Regions from separate parts of the Homo sapiens genome. Here regions 1, 3 and 4 are each linked to region 2. The links are contacts of gene promoters, found by promoter capture Hi-C in blood cells and fetal thymus (Javierre and others, 2016). All regions are on one chromosome and are shown on one strand. Each heading gives the region's core, a stretch centred on a gene start or on the middle of the fragment in contact. The rest is flanking DNA. Distances are from core to core; before and after follow the strand shown.

The links. The method cuts DNA at HindIII sites, captures the fragments that hold promoters and counts their contacts. A CHiCAGO score of 5 or more calls a contact.
Region 1: a fragment that was not itself captured here is called in contact with the fragment with the promoter of SLC9C1 in region 2 in 1 of 17 cell types (naive B cells); the score reaches 5.0 in naive B cells.
Region 3: a contact is called between a fragment that was not itself captured here and the fragment with the promoter of SLC9C1 in region 2, in 1 of 17 cell types (total B cells). The highest score is 6.5, in total B cells.
Region 4: a fragment that was not itself captured here is called in contact with the fragment with the promoter of SLC9C1 in region 2 in 2 of 17 cell types (total B cells and naive B cells); the score reaches 6.0 in total B cells.

The regions. Positions count from the first base shown.
Region 1 is chr3:112,999,991-113,002,690 of GRCh38, reverse strand. It overlaps GTPBP8 (GTP binding protein 8), which reads right to left. Exons shown (of 6, transcript NM_014170.4): 6 at 722-1,841. The coding sequence ends at 1,772. It overlaps RMP64 (ribonuclease MRP subunit p64), which reads left to right. Exons shown (of 9, transcript NM_015412.4): 9 at 1-247. Among named protein-coding and RNA genes, the nearest start is that of GTPBP8, 10 kb to the right of the region's middle. The HindIII fragment of the contact is 950 bases long and covers 782-1,731 here.
Region 2 is chr3:112,292,598-112,295,468 of GRCh38, reverse strand. SLC9C1 (solute carrier family 9 member C1) reads left to right here and starts at 1,253. Exons shown (of 29, transcript NM_183061.3): 1 at 1,253-1,376. The HindIII fragment of the contact is 3,564 bases long and covers 390-2,871 here.
Region 3 is chr3:113,288,120-113,290,819 of GRCh38, reverse strand. It overlaps CFAP44 (cilia and flagella associated protein 44), which reads left to right. Exons shown (of 35, transcript NM_001164496.2): 35 at 1-2,700. SPICE1-CFAP44 (SPICE1-CFAP44 readthrough (NMD candidate)) reads left to right here. Exons shown (of 52, transcript NR_183050.1): 52 at 1-2,700. Among named protein-coding and RNA genes, the nearest start is that of BOC, 78 kb to the right of the region's middle. The HindIII fragment of the contact is 808 bases long and covers 900-1,707 here.
Region 4 is chr3:112,983,066-112,985,941 of GRCh38, reverse strand. No RefSeq gene overlaps it. Among named protein-coding and RNA genes, the nearest start is that of GTPBP8, 6.5 kb to the left of the region's middle. The HindIII fragment of the contact is 1,215 bases long and covers 1,004-2,218 here.

The DNA of each region.
Region 1 (2,700 bases), core at 7-2,506, 710 kb before region 2:
TATCTATTAAAAGAACACACACACACACACACACTGTAAATCCTGGCCTTAAGCAAGTTATAGGCTAAGTTGTAAACAGCATTCTTGCCTTTCCCTGAGGAGGTGACTTCAGTGTCTCACATGTTCCTTCATGTACCCCCTTTTCTCTATGGCATATAAGCCCTGGGTCGGGGGGTAACTGTGGGGATCACTGCCTGAGACATGGCTTCTGTGCATAAGTCCCTATTAAATGTTTCTTTCTGACAAACTGGATTTGTTGGCCTCTTTCTTTGGCATCTCAGCACTCTCAGCCTTTGGGGGTAGGTTGCATAGACCTGGTCACTATACAACACATATTTCCTAGGACTTGTCACAAGTTCCCTCAAGATCTAGCACTAGTGCCTATGTTTTGGCTAACTCAATGAATATGTTGTTAATAGGCTTGTCTGTCTTGTTTCATTTTGCCACTGTTCCCTGGGATCACTTCCCAAATTTACATATGTAAGCTTTTGGCTCAGGCTCTGCTTATAGGAGAACCAAGGATAAATCAAAGCAGTGAAGTAACACTGGCAGACAAAAAGATGACTTCTAAGATAATTCTTTTGTTACTATATATTTTATGAATGTCTATATTAAAAAATCTTTTTTTTGGCTGAAAACATTCCTGCTTAGATTAGACCAATTCTGTCAACTATAAAACTGACAATATATTCAGATTGTTTTCTAAAGAAAAGCCACGAAGTTGGTTTATAGCTTTAATTTGTTATCCAGCAATACAGCTATAACCTTTTAATATTAAGCTTCACTTTGAAAACCTAAGCCACTTACATGAATAGGTTAGTGGCACCTTCACAAAAATCTTCTCTATTAACTTTAGTTCAAAGGCTTTATTTTTCCATTCTGAATCTTAAATGTAGCAGTCTAAACTGTCCCATCAGCTTTTTTCTCTTGCCCTTTACAAATTAGTTTTCTCACTTAAAGCTATTTTTGTTTTTTGCTTTTTCACTAGTGAAAATGTTACTTCCCCCATGAAAGGACATTTCTTGTAATAAATCTACCTGTGAATTTTGCTATATTTCTTTGTTGGTTTGGCTTTACAAATATGTAGCTGTCTTCTCACATGTTACCTGCTGTAAAACCATTCATTTGAATCTTAATAGCTTTCACGTTTACAGTAACAAATGAATTTCCGAGAAATCAAGTAAGTTGCCCAAGATCCAACATATATAATAAACATCAGAACTAGAACTTGAATTCTGTTCTTTCGGTTGTTTCCAACATGGACTAACACATTTTATCAAGAATGTTTTCAATATTCAAATAAGGACTCAAAAAAATAGGCTTACATAGTAACTTTTATCCATCAACTTACCTATCGATGCTTAACAGAAAAGCAGCCCCCTTTTACCTAGCCCATTTTAACATTTAAAAAAAAAATACCCATAGTAGACATATTCTTTAAAAGACAAAAGCCCAATAAAACGTCAAACCCTTCTGTACATAGTTGTAACAGGTTTTCATTTTATGGATGTGCTCTTGTCAGTTTGTTAAAATAGGGGAATCAGCTAGTAGCTGTTCTAATGAACACCATAATTCAATAACTTACAAACTTTTTTCACCTCAGGCACAAATTCTTGTTTCGAGAAGGCACAGGTTTTAAAGCTCAAGTGATCCTCCTGAAGTTACAGATGCACAACATTTAAAACAATGTTGAAATTCTTCTAGGTATTTAACTCCAGTTAGCATAAAGCTTTTTTTTTTTTTTTTGAATCTTCAGCTAAACCGGGAACCATTAGTCAAGACTTCCTGTTACACTGGCTATAAAGCATCTCAACAGGTGGATTCCAGAAAAGGTCACAGCACTGTGAAAAGAAAAGAGAAATAATTTTCTTCCTTTCCTCAGATATAACATCTGAATTCATCAACTTAAAAAAATTTACAAATTCTTATGATTTCATATATGAAAGCAGAACATCTTTTAATGTGTTCTAGCTTTCTTCTCTTCCCCCAGCCGCGTCTTGTAGTATTCTAAAATCTGATGATCAATATTATCTGATCCATTTCCTTCATGATTCCAAAAATTTCACTATATCTTCTATTTTGCTTTGTTTTCCAGAATAAGTCTTGATCTCTTTAGTTTGTTCTTTTTGTAATAAATATTCAATTACCTTGTTAGACTTTTTAGGTTTTAAAAAAATTACCATCACCATTATTGTACATATTATTTATCTATCTGTCTTCCTATATCCATCTGTGCGTCCGTCTGTCCGTCCGTATGGAGATCAGCCAAAATGTTTCTCAGGTATGGATATACTACAGTTTTTTTTGGTGGTGGTGGTGGTTTTTGAGACAGAGTCTCACTCTGTCGCCCAGGCTGGAGTGCAATGGCGTGATCTTGGCTCACTGCAACCTCTGCCTCCCGAGCAGCTGGGATTACAGGCATGTGCCACCACATCTGGCTAATTTTTTTTTTTATTTTAATTTTTCTAGAGATGGGGTTTCACCATGTTGACCAGGCTGGTTTTGGACTCCCGACCTCAGGTGATCTGCCCACCTCGGCCTCCCAAAAATGCTAGGATCACAGGCATGAGCCATGGCACCTGGCCTTCAAATGTCTCTAGTTTTAAGTGACACTTTAAGAAACACTGATAATATTACAGGTTTTCAGTACATAACGTTATAAAAACAATTCAACTAACAAGTGGATAAAGAAAATGTGGT
Region 2 (2,871 bases), core at 4-2,503:
GGCGCAATCTCGGCTCACTGCAACCTCCATCTCCCGGGTTCAAGTGATTCTCCTTTCTTAGCCTCCCGGAGCTAGGACTATAGGCGCCTGCCACCATGCCCGGCTAATTTTTGTATTTTTAGTAGAGACGGGGTTTCACCTTGTTGGTCAGGCTGGTCTCGAACTCCTGACCTCAGGTGATCCACCTGCCTCGGCCTCCCAAAGTGCTGGGATTACAGGCATGAGCCACTGCACCTGGCCGAGAATAGATTTTTTAAAGACCCAAGAAAAGGGGCAGCCCAGCAAGACAGAAAATTTCACCAGTAACTGCTCTACTTTAACCAAACACCACAGAAAAGTGTTCACCCACTCCCTGTACCCACATACCAGCAAAGACTGAGTAGGAAGCTTAAACTTCACCCATACCATACAAGATGCCAGAACCCTGCCTGTTTCCCCACCCCAACCAGAGCAGTATCAGAAAAGGCCTTGTGGGAGCTGGAACTTCCATAACAACCAGGCCATAAAGATGCACCCCATGCCTCAGTTGGAGACCATGTAGGGAGCCTGGACTTCTGCTCCAACCCAGCCAAACAAGTTGCCTCCTGCCTTCTTCATCAGGGTAGTATCAGAGGAGGCCAAATGAAGAGTTGGGAATTTTACCACCATTCACTTATAAACGTGTGGGTCGGGAGAAAGAGATGAAACACAGAGAACAAAACATTAAATACAATTTTAAATAACTTTAAGATATTTTATGAGAGTAGGAATGTGAAAAGTTGGCTCTATAGTAATAACTAAGTAATTTCAATTAAAATATTTTTTACATATTATGTTTAGAAAAAACAAATGAGTATATCATTATTCCTGAAAATTTCCTCACATATAACCCAGAGTGAAAGTTCACCTTGTCATCTTGATTTCATTCTCTTACATGCCCACAATATCCATTCACTTTTTCCCTAACCCAGCAACCTGCGTCCTCATATCTCTACCACACTATCTTATCCAGGAAACTTCCTTTTACTAGAATTCTGGGAAAGCAGTGTCCAACAGCTCTTTGTCAGAAATCCACTGTCCCAAAGTCTTAAATTAACACAATGGCGCAATTTCTGTAGGTTCATTTTCACCCCTTATTTGTTTATTTTTAAAAAATAAAACAAAGCCTTAAGCCGTCAAATGCCTGAGATATACAGGAGCAATGACGTTGCATTTCATCAGCCAATCAAGTAAGAGATGATGGGCCTGAAGCTAACCGGTGCAGACTAGGGGCGAGTTTGGAGCAAGTAACTGTCAGTGAGGTTGCAGTTGGTCTGGGCTGTTTGGCTGTGAGCGAAATAGCTGCCCCCCACTTCTCACTTGCACACCACGGGATACTCCTCCTGAGGCTCCGGATGGTGAGCTCTCCAGTCTCTAGTTTCCTTTTCTGGAAGTTGACCTTTCCTACTGGTACTTTCTCTCTCAGTCTCGCCTCCTAGATGAACAAAGGCTCCCACTGTTTTCCTGCTAGAGATTCAGCCACTCCCTCTTGGCGCTTCTGCCTTTCTTGTGGCAGACCATGGAACACTTTCCCAAAGATCAGCTAGCTTCTCGGTTTGAACTTCTACCCCTTAGCTGCTTCCCCTCCTCCATTATGCTTTTTACATCAACTCTTTGTGAACTATCCAGTGGCATGTGTTCCCTTTGCGTTACTGAAACTGAAAAGTCCAGCCCTAGGGGAAAGCTCACTGGTTCAGGGAATCGCCTCAGGTGTGTGGAGCTGATCTTGAGCTGGAGGAAGGGCTCATTCTGAGTGGAGGGGCATTAGGAGGGCAATAGCCCACCCACCTTCAGAGTCAGTAAGATGTCTGCGTTGTGTGGTAGGAGAGTTTACTAAGGAGACAATCCAGCCTCTGGTATCAATATAAAATAAACCATTAAGCATGAGCTTTGTAGCTGTGAAGATTACTGAGATCCCACAGTGCCCTCTTCAGGATGCTTTCTTCACCTAATTCTTGCAAAACGTTCCAATCTGAAGGAAGAAGACTGTTTCCATGTTCAGTAACATGGTAAATTAGTGTGACTTACGGTTCATGAGACAAAATTTCTCAATGCTGGCTGACTGACAAGGACAAATTCATGTCATTTTTGAGAGGGCAGTCATTAATTTCCTCCACACACAAAGAGAATTGAGATATTAGCTAACATGAGAGATATATATATATATATATATTTGAAATAGAGTCTCACTCTGTCACCCAAGCTGGAGTGCAGTGGCACAATCTAGGCTCACTGCAATCTCTGCCTCTTCAATTGATTCTCCTGTCTCAGCCTCCCAAGTAGTTGGGATTACAGGCATGTGCCACCACACCTGGCTAATTTTTTTTTTTTTTTTTTTGTATTTTTAGTAGAGACAGTTTCACTATTTTGGCCAGGCTAGTCTCGAACTCCTGATCTCAAGTGATCCACCCGCCTAGGCCTCCCAAAGTGCTGGGATTACAGGCGTGAGCCACTGTGCTCAGTCAACTAACTTATTGTTAAATTAATGCAGAGGACCTATGTGATAAACCAATATTTTTTTCTTTAATGGGATTTGGACTCACAGACTTTTACAAAGCTGTCAAAAGTCAGCTTAAGATGAAGAGTTCTAATTATATTGAAAACCTGTGGCCGGGCGTGGTGGCTCACGCCTGTAATCCCAGCACTTTGGGAGGCCGAGGCGGGCAGATCACAAGGTCAGGAGATCGAGACCATCCTGGCTAACACAGTGAAACCCCGTCTCTACTAAAAATACAAAAAATTAGCCGGGCGTGGTGGCTGGCGCCTGTAGTCCCAGCTACTCGGGAGGCTGAGGCAGGAGAATGGTGTGAACCCGGGAGGCAGAGCTTGCAGTGAGCCGAGATCGCACCACTG
Region 3 (2,700 bases), core at 54-2,553, 1.0 Mb before region 2:
AATTCTAAGTTTTCCCCATAGTTTCTCATGTCCCCTGCCATTTTCTTTCAGGTTTTACTTGGGCCATTTGCTGGTTTTGATATAGATGAGGAGATAATGAAATAGATTTACTAGAGATCATCTTTAACAATCACCTTTGATTATGCATAACATTTTAAACTAATTGAAGAGTATCCTTTTGGTTTGGGGGTAAGTGCTCATTGAAGTTCATGGCTATAACCATTGCAGGATAATCTCACTGACATTTGGAATCCTGTTAGTAACAGAGCATAGCTCTTTAGATTAAGAGCTCTGTATTAACGAGCTACTCATTGAGGCTGTTCCAGGATAAGCTGGTCACTGAGAAGGGCGGGTGAAGAAAGGAACATTGCATAAATGTAGAAGGGAACTCAGCAATGCCAAGTCTTCCTCACCTGTGATTAGCCTGCTAATGTGCCCCCCAAAATTACAGACAGGTCTTGCTTTCTTTGTACATCAGCATATTCTTAGAGGTGGCCACTTGGCCTATTGTCTTCCTAAGATTCCTTCATATTCCTATTTAAGAGGTCAGAATACCTTATTGTTTGCACTTGTCACCATTAATTTCTGATGTAGTCACTTCTCTACTGGAGAGCACCCACTTTTTTTTTTAAATCACTTTCTGTGTTGTATATCCTAAGCCATGTGTGCCTTTCAAGTATTTTTAAAAATATGCTAGTCATAGCCCTGAGTGTCTTATTTATTGCGGTAAAAAATTACCCCCAAACTTAGCTTGAAACAACAAACTTGTGATCTCACCCAGGAGTGAGAGGGTTTCTGAGGTCCAGGAATCTGGGGACAGCTTGGCCGGGTGTTCTGGCTCAGGGTCTTTCGTGGAGTTGCAGTCACACTAGGAGCTGGGGCTGCAGCCATCTGAAGCTTGGCTGGAGCTGGAGGGGCTATTAGCAAATTCACTCCCTTGGCCATTAGGCAGGGCTTCAGTTCCTCGCCATGTGGGCCTCTCCATAGGGCCGCTTGGGATATGACTTCTCCCAGAGCAAGTGATCCAAGAGTGAGGGAGACAGCAAGAGAGAATGATGTATACAAGAGCCACAGTCTTTTACAGCCCAAGCTCAGAAGTGACATAGCGTCACTATTGTCATATGGGTCACAGGCTGACCCTGTGTGATGTGGGAGGGGACTGAACAGGGTGTGAATGCCAGGTGGGGGTCACCGGGGCCTTCGTGGGAGCTGGCAGCCACAAGAAGCAGCTGCCTGGAGAGAGTGGCTGGTCTCTGAGAAAGGTCTTGAGGCGATACCATCCCCTTGGTAATTGTAGAGAATCAGGAGAAGTTACGTTATCTTCCTGGGCCTCATTTTATTATCTGACAAATGAAGGATTGGTAGAATGGGTTCCTTCCCATTCTGAGATTCTGATTCTGATTGCAGCAAGAATGGACCTACAGTCTACAGAAGAGCCACATCAGGACTTGCTGTGCATTTCAACTGAGAGGAAAGCTAATCGGGATAATTATTCCCAAACTGAGCTGGACTAAATCACTAGTTAATTCTACAATATTCAGGGCTTCATTCCGCATGTTTGGGAATTGACGACAGTTAACACTGAATTACTTTATTTTGAATTGGACAAAATATGTTGATAGCTTTAGGTTCATTTCAACTTGATTCCAGGCTTAGTCTTAAATCTGTAGTTAAGTTAGAGCATCTGAGTCTTTGGGAAGTTAAGCTTCAAACACAAGTAGACCAGCAGGGTGTGGCATGGGCAGGGTGGCTGGGAAGCTATCCTGCTCCTGGCACACTTCCCTGCCTTCTGCTGTGCTCCCAGAGGAGCAGCCTCACCTCTGAGGGTAAGGCCAAAAATCAGCCTACACTGAGTTACTTGTGGGTCAATTGTTCATATAACTTGGCTCTTCTGAACTGTCATCCATAGTATCACCGATGATCAATCTCAGCATTGGAAGAAAAAGAAACCACAGAGTCCAGCCCCTCTGTCACAACTTCAGAGTAAAGGAGTTGCTCATGCCTGCCAGCCAGCCTGTCCCACCACAGCGGGCTCCCCAGCTTAGGGAGGTCTGTGAGCCATGTGCTAAATTTCTCTTTAGAGCTAAATCCATTGAGTGCTATGATTCCAGTGCTGTGCAGAAAGCAGATGTTTCACCTATCACTTCAGAAAAGTTCACCAGACTTCATTTTGACAGCTACCTTAGATCATCAAGGAGAAAAAGGAAAAAATGTAAAAACCAGTGGGGCTAGAAGGTGAGTTACAGCTCAGATTGGGGGGCCTCTGGATAGCAAAGCAATGACTGAGAGCGTCAGCCCTACCCACCCCAGAAGTGAGCTCTGGGCCGTGATGCCAGGTTGTCTGAAATCACAGTATCTTATTTTTTCTCTTCTCTTCCCTGCTCTGCTTCTCATTTCCTAACATTTACCTGTTCCTTACAGTCCTTCCTTTTAAATAATATTTTTAAAATACTGCTTTCCTGAAAACCATGCTGCACTTCCACATGAAGTTCTCTCTGACGTTGAGCTTGATGGAAAAAGGATGCAGAAGTCAGGAATAGCAGGTGCTATACTTATTTTGGCCAGCAGAGGATGCACTTGCCCTAAACAGTCAGAGTGACTCTTCCCTAGGACCCTGTTTATCAAATTCTTCATGTTTAAAAGCCAGGGTCTGGCCCCCCACTTAACGAGATTGTCTCAAGTGGCATTTCATCTGTAACT
Region 4 (2,876 bases), core at 362-2,861, 690 kb before region 2:
CCTGCCTTAGCCTCCCAAAATGTTGGGATTACAGGCATGAGCCACCACGCCCAGGCTTAATTTCTTAATTAGGGCATAAATTATTATTCTTGAGATTTATTATTTTACTATAATTCAAGAACCAATAGAGACCTATTTTCCATGATTTTAGTCTTTGGAGCTCATGAAAGCATTGAGCTTTTTAAATATCTGATTAATGTGTCTTTAGAGAATATATCTAAATTTAGAGAAGTTGTTTCTTTTTCAGAGAAGTTGTTTGAGCTTTCTTTTAAGGTTGTGCCTACTGCACTGACAGATTTCTCTAAAGAGATCTGGAGATTAACCATCAGACAGTAATCATAGGTAGGAGGTGAGTTTGTAGAGTGATTTGGATTCTGGAGGAGGAGTAAAGGTTCACTTCTTTCAAGGTTGTTTTTATCAATAGAGGGAGAAATGATTGCTTTAAGTGGTCTTAATTTTTTTCATTCGTAATTTTGCATTTGGCTCTGTGTCATACAAGTGCTATTAAAATAATTTGGAACACTATTTACCATATTCAGGTTGTGTTTTTATATCAGTAACAAGCTCAGAGGGTTTTTTTAAAATTGTTTTTGGAAAATAGTATGGATTTTGCTGTTCTGACTGATTAATTCGTTAACATTTTAATTCTTGTTGTGTGTTAAGCAAGGTTATTTTAGTGGGCAAGTTTACTTTGTAGTACACATCTAGTTTATATCTTGTTGCCTTGTTGGAAGTGAATGGAATGTTCTCTAACACCCTGAGGAGATGAGGCAACATTCACAGGCAGATATATTGATGTATATTCAAATTTTTAACTTATTCATAGGTAGAGTGTGTCAGGTGTTCCCAAGACTAGCTCCCAAATGAGGCGAGCAAGGATGCACAGAACTCAGCATATAGTTGTACTTATGCCTATAATTTACAACAACAAAAGAATACAAAGCAAGCCTGGCAAGGGGAAAAGGCACTCAAAGTGAAGTTTGGAGGAAGCCAGGCACAAGCTTCTAATTGTCCCCTAAGTTGCACAGGATGCAATTAATTCTGCCAGCAATGAGTTTTAACAACATGTGTGAAATGTTGTCTACTAGCAAAGCTCACCTGAGTCTAGGAGTCCAGGGTTTTTACCGAGCGCTGTTCATATAGGCATCTAGTGCCTGTGTGACTGACTATAGTCACTGAAAGTTCAGATTTGCAGAAGGAAAGCAGCATCAGTATGTACCACTTGTTTGTTCAAATAGTTTAGATACAGTGAGCCACTCATGAATGGAAAGTTGGCTCTGTGCCATGCAAGGAAACTGTTTACCAGTCAAGTTCTCAAATGTCAGCCCAGTGCCAATCTTGTAAACAAATCTTTCTAAGGGTAGCAGCCACAGGCCTGCTATATGAACTGTTTTCTGCACATAGATTAAAAGATAAAAACATTTAAAAATGAGAAGTTTCTCACCTGCACTTATTGTGAGATTGTATACTTGTAGGAAAGATGTATTCCAGGTTCTGCTCTAAATACAAGTGATTTCTCTGGAGATTTTTGAGAAAAGTGGGACAGACTTTCTCTAGTCATTTTAATAGGACATGGCAAAACTAGAATTCTTCCTGTGGAAGGAGGTTATAATCAAAGCTGCTGTCTCAGCCACCTGTAATAAAGTATGGGGCCTCTGGAGAGGAGTGCAATGAATTGGTGATTCAACTGGTATGAACATCAGGTTTAGCTGGAGTTGAGTGCAGCAATGTCCTTGAACATTCCCTCCAACCTCCTTACCCATCCTCCTCTAGGGGCTGGACAATCAGATTCAAACAATGTTTTGTGATTACTCTCTAGAAAGGAATAATGCCTGGTGTAGTGGTACTAGGTGGTTACCTAATAGGCAGGATCTCATGGGTGGCAGGCGCACGAGTGGTTGAGCCCAGAATGCTGTGATATATCTCTCTTCTGCCTAGACTAGTGCAAGTCAGAACCTAGCCTTTCACTCCTCTCTCTAGGTATCTGTTATTTACCAAGATAGCTGATTTTTTTTAAAAGATAGCTGATTTTACCATAATAGTATAATCTCACGAACTCACATTATGAACCCACAAGCAATAGAAGAAAAAGTAAGAAAAAGATAATTCATTCTAGAAGTAATCAGAATGAATGGACTTGGTGGGCAAAGAATTTAAATAAAAACAGAAAATATCCTCAGAGATAAGGGAATATATGGCAAACATGAAACAGGAAGCTTCTAAGAAGTACCAGTTGAACATATTAGATATGAATTATATTATTGTGAAGTAAATTTCTCAATGGATGTGTTTAATAGTTGAATAATATTATCAACTCAAAGAACAAAATAGCAGGATAATTAGATTGGAGAATATTTCAATAAATATTAGGAAGGGATAAAAAATATAAAGAATTTAAAAGTTAAGAGCTGCGAAGGTGAAAAGAAGAAATTTAAATAACAGTATTGTAAGAGTTGGGCATGGTGGCTTGGTCCTGTAATCCCAGCACTTTGGGAGGCCGAGGTGGGCAGATCGATTTGAGGCCAGGAGTAGGAGACCAGCCTGGCTAACATGATGAAACCCCTTTCTCTACTGTAAATGCAAAAAATTAGCCAGGTATGGTGGTGCACGCCCACAATCCCAACTACTTGGGAGGCTGAGGCATGAGAATTTCTTGAGCCTGAGTGGCAGAGATTGCAGTGAGCTGAGATTACACCACTGCACTCCAGCCTGGGTGAGAGAGCAAAACTCTGTCTCAAAAAACAAAACAACACAAAACAAAAGCAAACCAAACAATATTATAGGAGTACTTGAAAAAAATGAAGTAAAAGGAGGAAATTTGCTGAAAATTTCCAGAATTAAAGATACTTTGACTAGGAAGCAGAGCACTACTTCTT